Regions from separate parts of the Homo sapiens genome. Here region 1 is linked to region 2. The links are contacts of gene promoters, found by promoter capture Hi-C in human tissues and cell types (Jung and others, 2019). All regions are on one chromosome and are shown on one strand. The core of a region is centred on a gene start or on the middle of the fragment in contact, and the rest is flanking DNA. Distances in the headings are between cores, read along the strand shown.

What was found. Contacts are between HindIII fragments. The study calls those that stand out against the background at their distance.
Region 1: a fragment that was not itself captured here is called in contact with the fragment with the promoter of CYP2D6 in region 2 in 5 of the 25 tissues and cell types used here (IMR-90 fibroblasts, dorsolateral prefrontal cortex, hippocampus and 2 more).

What each region holds. Positions count from the first base shown.
Region 1 is chr22:42,253,731-42,256,614 of GRCh38, forward strand. The region is part of intron 1 of TCF20 (transcription factor 20); the gene reads right to left. Among named protein-coding and RNA genes, the nearest start is that of TCF20, 15 kb to the right of the region's middle. The HindIII fragment of the contact is 7,259 bases long and covers 1-2,884 here.
Region 2 is chr22:42,129,560-42,132,259 of GRCh38, forward strand. CYP2D6 (cytochrome P450 family 2 subfamily D member 6 (gene/pseudogene)) reads right to left here and starts at 1,251. Exons shown (of 9, transcript NM_000106.6): 1 at 1,053-1,251; 2 at 179-350. The coding sequence starts at 1,232. RefSeq lists promoters at 1,257-1,723, 1,310-2,700 and a cis regulatory region at 2,536-2,547. The HindIII fragment of the contact is 22,528 bases long and covers 1-2,700 here.

The DNA of each region.
Region 1 (2,884 bases), core at 309-2,808, 120 kb after region 2:
TAATAAATTTATTAATTCAGAAAGGATCCTGAACCATGAACCAAAGAGAAAAAAGTAACTGAAGAGGCCGGGCATGGTGGCTCATGCCTGTAATCCCAGCACTTTGGGAGGCCAGGCAGGAGAATCACCTGAGGTCAGGAGTTTGAGACCAGCCTGACCAACATGGAGAAACCCTGTCTCTACTAAAAATACAAAATTAGCCGGGTGTAGTGGCGCATGCCTGTAATCTCAGCTACTTGGGAGGCTGAGGCAGGAAAATCGCTTGAACCCGGGAGGCGGAGGTTGCGGTGAGCTGAGATCGTGCCATTGCACTCCAGCCTGGGCAACAAGAGCAAAACTCCCTTTCAAAAAAAAAAAAAAAAAAAAAAAGTAACTGAAGCTTCCACAGCATATTCCTTTGAGAGCTGGCAGCGAAATTTTATTTACTGATTCACTCAAAAATATCTGCTAAGCATTAGCTACATATCAAGCACTGTTCTAGATGCTGGGAATATGATGGGCAACAGACAAGTCCTTGCCCTCACACAGCAGACTATTCTCCCAGGTAGATCCCAGGATGGTACTTCCCAGCTCCACTCCACTTTCTTTTTCTTTGTTTCTATAATCCAAAACTAAACTCTTCCTCTTCAAATGGCCACAAACTTATCCTGCAAGTTATATTCCAGCTCATTTAAATTAAACATTCACACAGGGTACAGGTTAAGGGCACAGAGTCCAGAGCCAGGGTGCCTGTGGTATCATGATATATACTGGGTATTGTCCAGCCCTTGTAACAGTGTTTTGTTATAATATTGGGTATGTTAAGGCCTGGGGAAACAATCTCTCACCTGTCCTCCATTCACCTGCCCTAAGGCAGGACTCTAATCCTTTCCCACCTCTCAGACTGTGGCTCTTAAGACCCTCCTCAGAGGGCGTCCAGCCCTATACCCTGGGAGAAGAAATTGACATCAGGAAACTTCCATAAAAATCCAAAAGGAGCTGGTCCCAGCACTTTGAGAGGCCGTGACAGGCAGATCACAGGGTCAGCAGATCGAGAATATCTTCACCAACACAGTGAAACCCCGTCTCTACTAAAAATACAAAAATTAGCCGCGGGTGGAGGCGGGCGCCTGTAGTCCCAAATACTCTGGAGGCTGAGGCAGGAGAATGGCGTGAACCTGGGAGGCAGAGCTTGAGAAGAGATGGCACCACTGCACTCCAGCCTGGGTGACACAGCAAGACTCCGTCTCAAAAAAAAAAAAAAAAAAAAGGTAGAGGAAAAACATGATTAGAGGTGAGAGTTTTTCCCAATTCCCAATCCTGGCTCTGCTACTTAATAGTTGGGTGACCTTGGGCAAGTCACTCAACCTCCGTTATTCAGTTTTCTCGTTTGAAAAACAGAGGTAATAACACTATCTCCTAACTTTTTTGTCAAATGTTTAGAACAAGTCCTGGCCCTTGGAATTTATTGTTTATATAAAAATATTCACAATGTTGGCTGGGCATGGTGCTCATGCCTGTAATCCCAGCACTTTGGGAGGCCAAGGCGGGCGGATCACGAGGTCAGGAAATCGAGACCATCTTGACCAACATGGTAAAACCCCGTCTCTACTAAAAATACCAAAAAAAAGTAGCCGGGCTTGGTGGTGCGTGCCTGTAGTCCCAGCTAGTTGGGAGGCTAAGGCAGGGGCATCACTTGAACCCGGGAGGAGGAGACTGCCATGAGCTGAGATCGCGCCACTGCACTCCAACCTGGCAACAGAGTGAGACTTCATCTCAAACAACAACAACAACAACAACAACAACAACAACAACAACAAAACCACATTATTTATTGTTATAAATGTTTGGGTAAATAAAATATGCTTGCCGACCTGTTTTGGAATCAACATGGGTTGATGCCAAAATTTCCTGTAAATCCATTTTATTTAAACCAATTGCTAAATTTTACAGATCCTTCTTATGCAGACTAGGGCTTTGGGCATGAGAAAATCAGAACAGTAAGAGGCCAAGATGATCAATTCATCATCTGTTTCCGGCCCTCCCCTCTCCTTCCCACCACCATCTCTCCTCAGTCAGAACAACGCCCCCAACCATGTATTCACACCTCTCTTCACAAAACTTTGTTCCATTTATGAGACTCAAGTGCCCCAGCCCCAGGTTCAAAGCTATTCCCACCTTGCTCTCATACTATTAGGCCCACGCTCCCTTCTGACCTTCCCCTCTGTCATCTCTAGGCCCTTAGCCTAAGGGCCCAGGGTTTGATTGATAATATGCTACATACTTTTGAGCCTTGGTTCCCAAAAGACCTCTCTTAGGAATGCTCTTTCTCCACTCTTCCACTTGTCTCTCTCTCTCGTCCATCCTTCAAGGTCTACCCAAATGCTCCCTCCTCTACCGGCTTCTCCAATATTCTTCCCATACTTGATCAGGAGGGAGCAGCCTCTTGCCTAGTTCTCCCCAGCACTCCAGCTACACCACTATTACAGCCTTATCAATCATTCATACGTTTGATAAATGTTAATTTTCCATATTGGACTCTCCCACAGACCCTGAACTCTAAGGAAAAGTGAAGTGTTTTATTTGATTTTTGTGTGTGTGTGCCTAGCATGGCAACTACTTAGCAAACTTGGCTGAACAGAAATTTTCTTTTTTCTTTTATTTTCTCTGATGTGTTTCATTCCCATAGGCTTCATTTGGCCTGTGTCCCTTATCTTTAGGGGAAGCCAACTTTCAGCACATGCGCTAGCCAATGTAGCAAAGTTTTTTTTTTTTTTTTAAAGAGACATTTAACAAATTATGCAGGCTGTGATGTCCTTCATTCCAGCTCAAATTTCTCCTACTGAATATGCTAGAACTTAAATCCACTTCCACGAAGACTTTCAACAAGAGAAGATGAAAATCC
Region 2 (2,700 bases), core at 1-2,500:
GCCCCGCCCTCGTCCCCATGCTCACACCTCCCTAGTGCAGGTGGTTTCTTGGCCCGCTGTCCCCACTCGCTGGCCTGTTTCATGTCCACGACCCCGCGCCCTCTCTGCCCAGCTCGGACTACGGTCATCACCCACCCGGGTCCCACGGAAATCTGTCTCTGTCCCCACCGCTGCTTGCCTTGGGAACGCGGCCCGAAACCCAGGATCTGGGTGATGGGCACAGGCGGGCGGTCGGCGGTGTCCTCGCCGTGGGTCACCAGCGCCTCGCGCACGGCCGCCAGCCCATTGAGCACGACCACCGGCGTCCAGGCCAGCTGCAGGCTGAACACGTCCCCGAAGCGGCGCCGCAACTGCAGAGGGAGGGTCAGGGCCTCTTGTCAAGCCAGGATCACCCCAGACTACAGGTCCTAGTCCTATTTGAACCTTGGACGACCCCCGGGGCTACCAGGAGTGAGCAGGTGGAAGGAGGAGACCCAGCCTCCTGATCGTGGGGCGGGGGTGGGGGTCACACCTTCTGTGATGGAGGAACTCAGTTTGGATGCGTCACCCAGGTATGACCTTGCAAGAGTCACCAAAATTGCCGAGAGGCCCCAGTTAGCATCCCATTCCCAGATGATGGTCCATGCCGGTGAGCAGTGAGGCCCGAGGACCCACAGTGCAAAAGGTTTGAACCGGGTCACTGCACCCCCTTCATCCTCGATTTCGTGATTTAAACGGCACTCAGGACTAACTCATCTTCCATTCCCAAGGCCTTTCCTTCTGGTGTCAGCAGAAGGGACTTTGTACTCCATAACATATGTTGCCCAATGGGCTTGCATGCCCACTGCCAAGTCCAGCTCCACCTCCAGGCCCTTGCCCTACTCTTCCTTGGCCTTTGGAAAATCCAGTCCTTCATGCCATGTATAAATGCCCTTCTCCAGGACGTCCCCCAAACCTGCTTCCCCTTCTCAGCCTGGCTTCTGGTCCAGCCTGTGGTTTCACCCACCATCCATGTTTGCTTCTGGTAGGGGAGCCTCAGCACCTCTGCCGCCCTCCAGGACCTCCTCCCTCACCTGGTCGAAGCAGTATGGTGTGTTCTGGAAGTCCACATGCAGCAGGTTGCCCAGCCCGGGCAGTGGCAGGGGGCCTGGTGGGTAGCGTGCAGCCCAGCGTTGGCGCCGGTGCATCAGGTCCACCAGGAGCAGGAAGATGGCCACTATCACGGCCAGGGGCACCAGTGCTTCTAGCCCCATACCTGCCTCACTACCAAATGGGCTCCTCTGGACACACCTGGCACCCCCACCCCACCAGGCACAGAGGACCAGGCAGGACACTCTCAGCACACCGAGCGCGTGACCCTTCCCTTATAAAGGGAGCTGATGATGGCCTTTGCCCTCTGCTGTGAGTGAACCTGCTGTGTTGACTGTGCTGCCAGTGGCAGAGTCAGGCCAGGGCGGGTATGGGCTGCTCCAGAGGTTCTTGCCCCTGCTTCCTGCTCCAGGCCCTTACCCAGGGTAGGCCGGTGGAGGGGCCTGGTCGGAGAAGTCACCCCCTCTCCCCACTCCAAGCTCCTGAAGCCTGCAAAGCCTTCTGGGATAACCAGGGTTTCAGTGGACCCGGCCATCCACCTCCCAGCTAGGCTCATACACCCTAATGTAGTCACAACCCCTCCTCCAGAACATGGCCTTGCCCTTTCCCTACCCCCACCTGCCCACTCCAGAGTGACCTTCAGCACCCTTATCTGTCACTGGCACTTACCTGGGGCCTTAGAGCTCCTGATGATGAGTGGCATCATGGGCCTGGTCCCTTCACTTCACCTTGCACTCTTGACATGCACAGACGCTATGCACACACCTGATGGTGCACAGATCTCTTGTCCACTCCCAGACACTTGTCCACTTGTTCACACTTGCAGGGACACGATTACACACGCAGAAAATCACCCACACAAAGACAATATTCACACATACACAGACTCACACTGACACTTAGGGCACACATTCTCTCTCACACACACCAGTCACACACACATACAGACCCGGCACCAAGTACCCCACTTCCCAGCCATGCCGGAGGTTTCCTGGATGGGACCACTCCTGTCCAGAGGCTGCTCCCAGCCCAGCCCACATTCCTGGGCTCTGGCCGGGCTATGGCTTCTTGTTTGCAACAGGGCTGTTCCCAGAGCTCCCAGTTGGTAGCCGGAAGGCCCTTGCCCCAGCCTGTGACAACATCCTCCCGGGCTGCCTGAGGGTCGTCCTCCTCCACTGCTTTCTGGCCTCCATGTTTCTGATTAGAAATCTGGTGGGAACGTTATGGAGGATCCTTTGTTCAGGATATGTTGCTTTATTTTTTTTTTCTTTAGACAGGGTCTCACTCTGTTGCCCAGGCCGGAGTGCAGTGGCAGGATCATGGCTCACTGCAGTCTCGACATCAAGTGGACCCCCTGCCTCCCAAGTAGCTGGGACTACAGGCACCACCCAGCCTAATTCTTTTTTTTTTTTTTTTTTTTTTGGAGACGGAGATTTCCTCTTGTTGCCCAGGCTGGTGGCTCCCCTCCATTGTGCAATGATGCAATCTCGGCTCACTACAACCTTCACCTCTAGGCTTCAAGCAATTCTCCTGCCTCAGCCTCCTAAGTAGCTGGGATTACAGGTGTGTGCCACCACGTCTAGCTTTTTGTATTTTCAGTAGAGATAGGGTTTCACCATGTTGGCCAGGCTA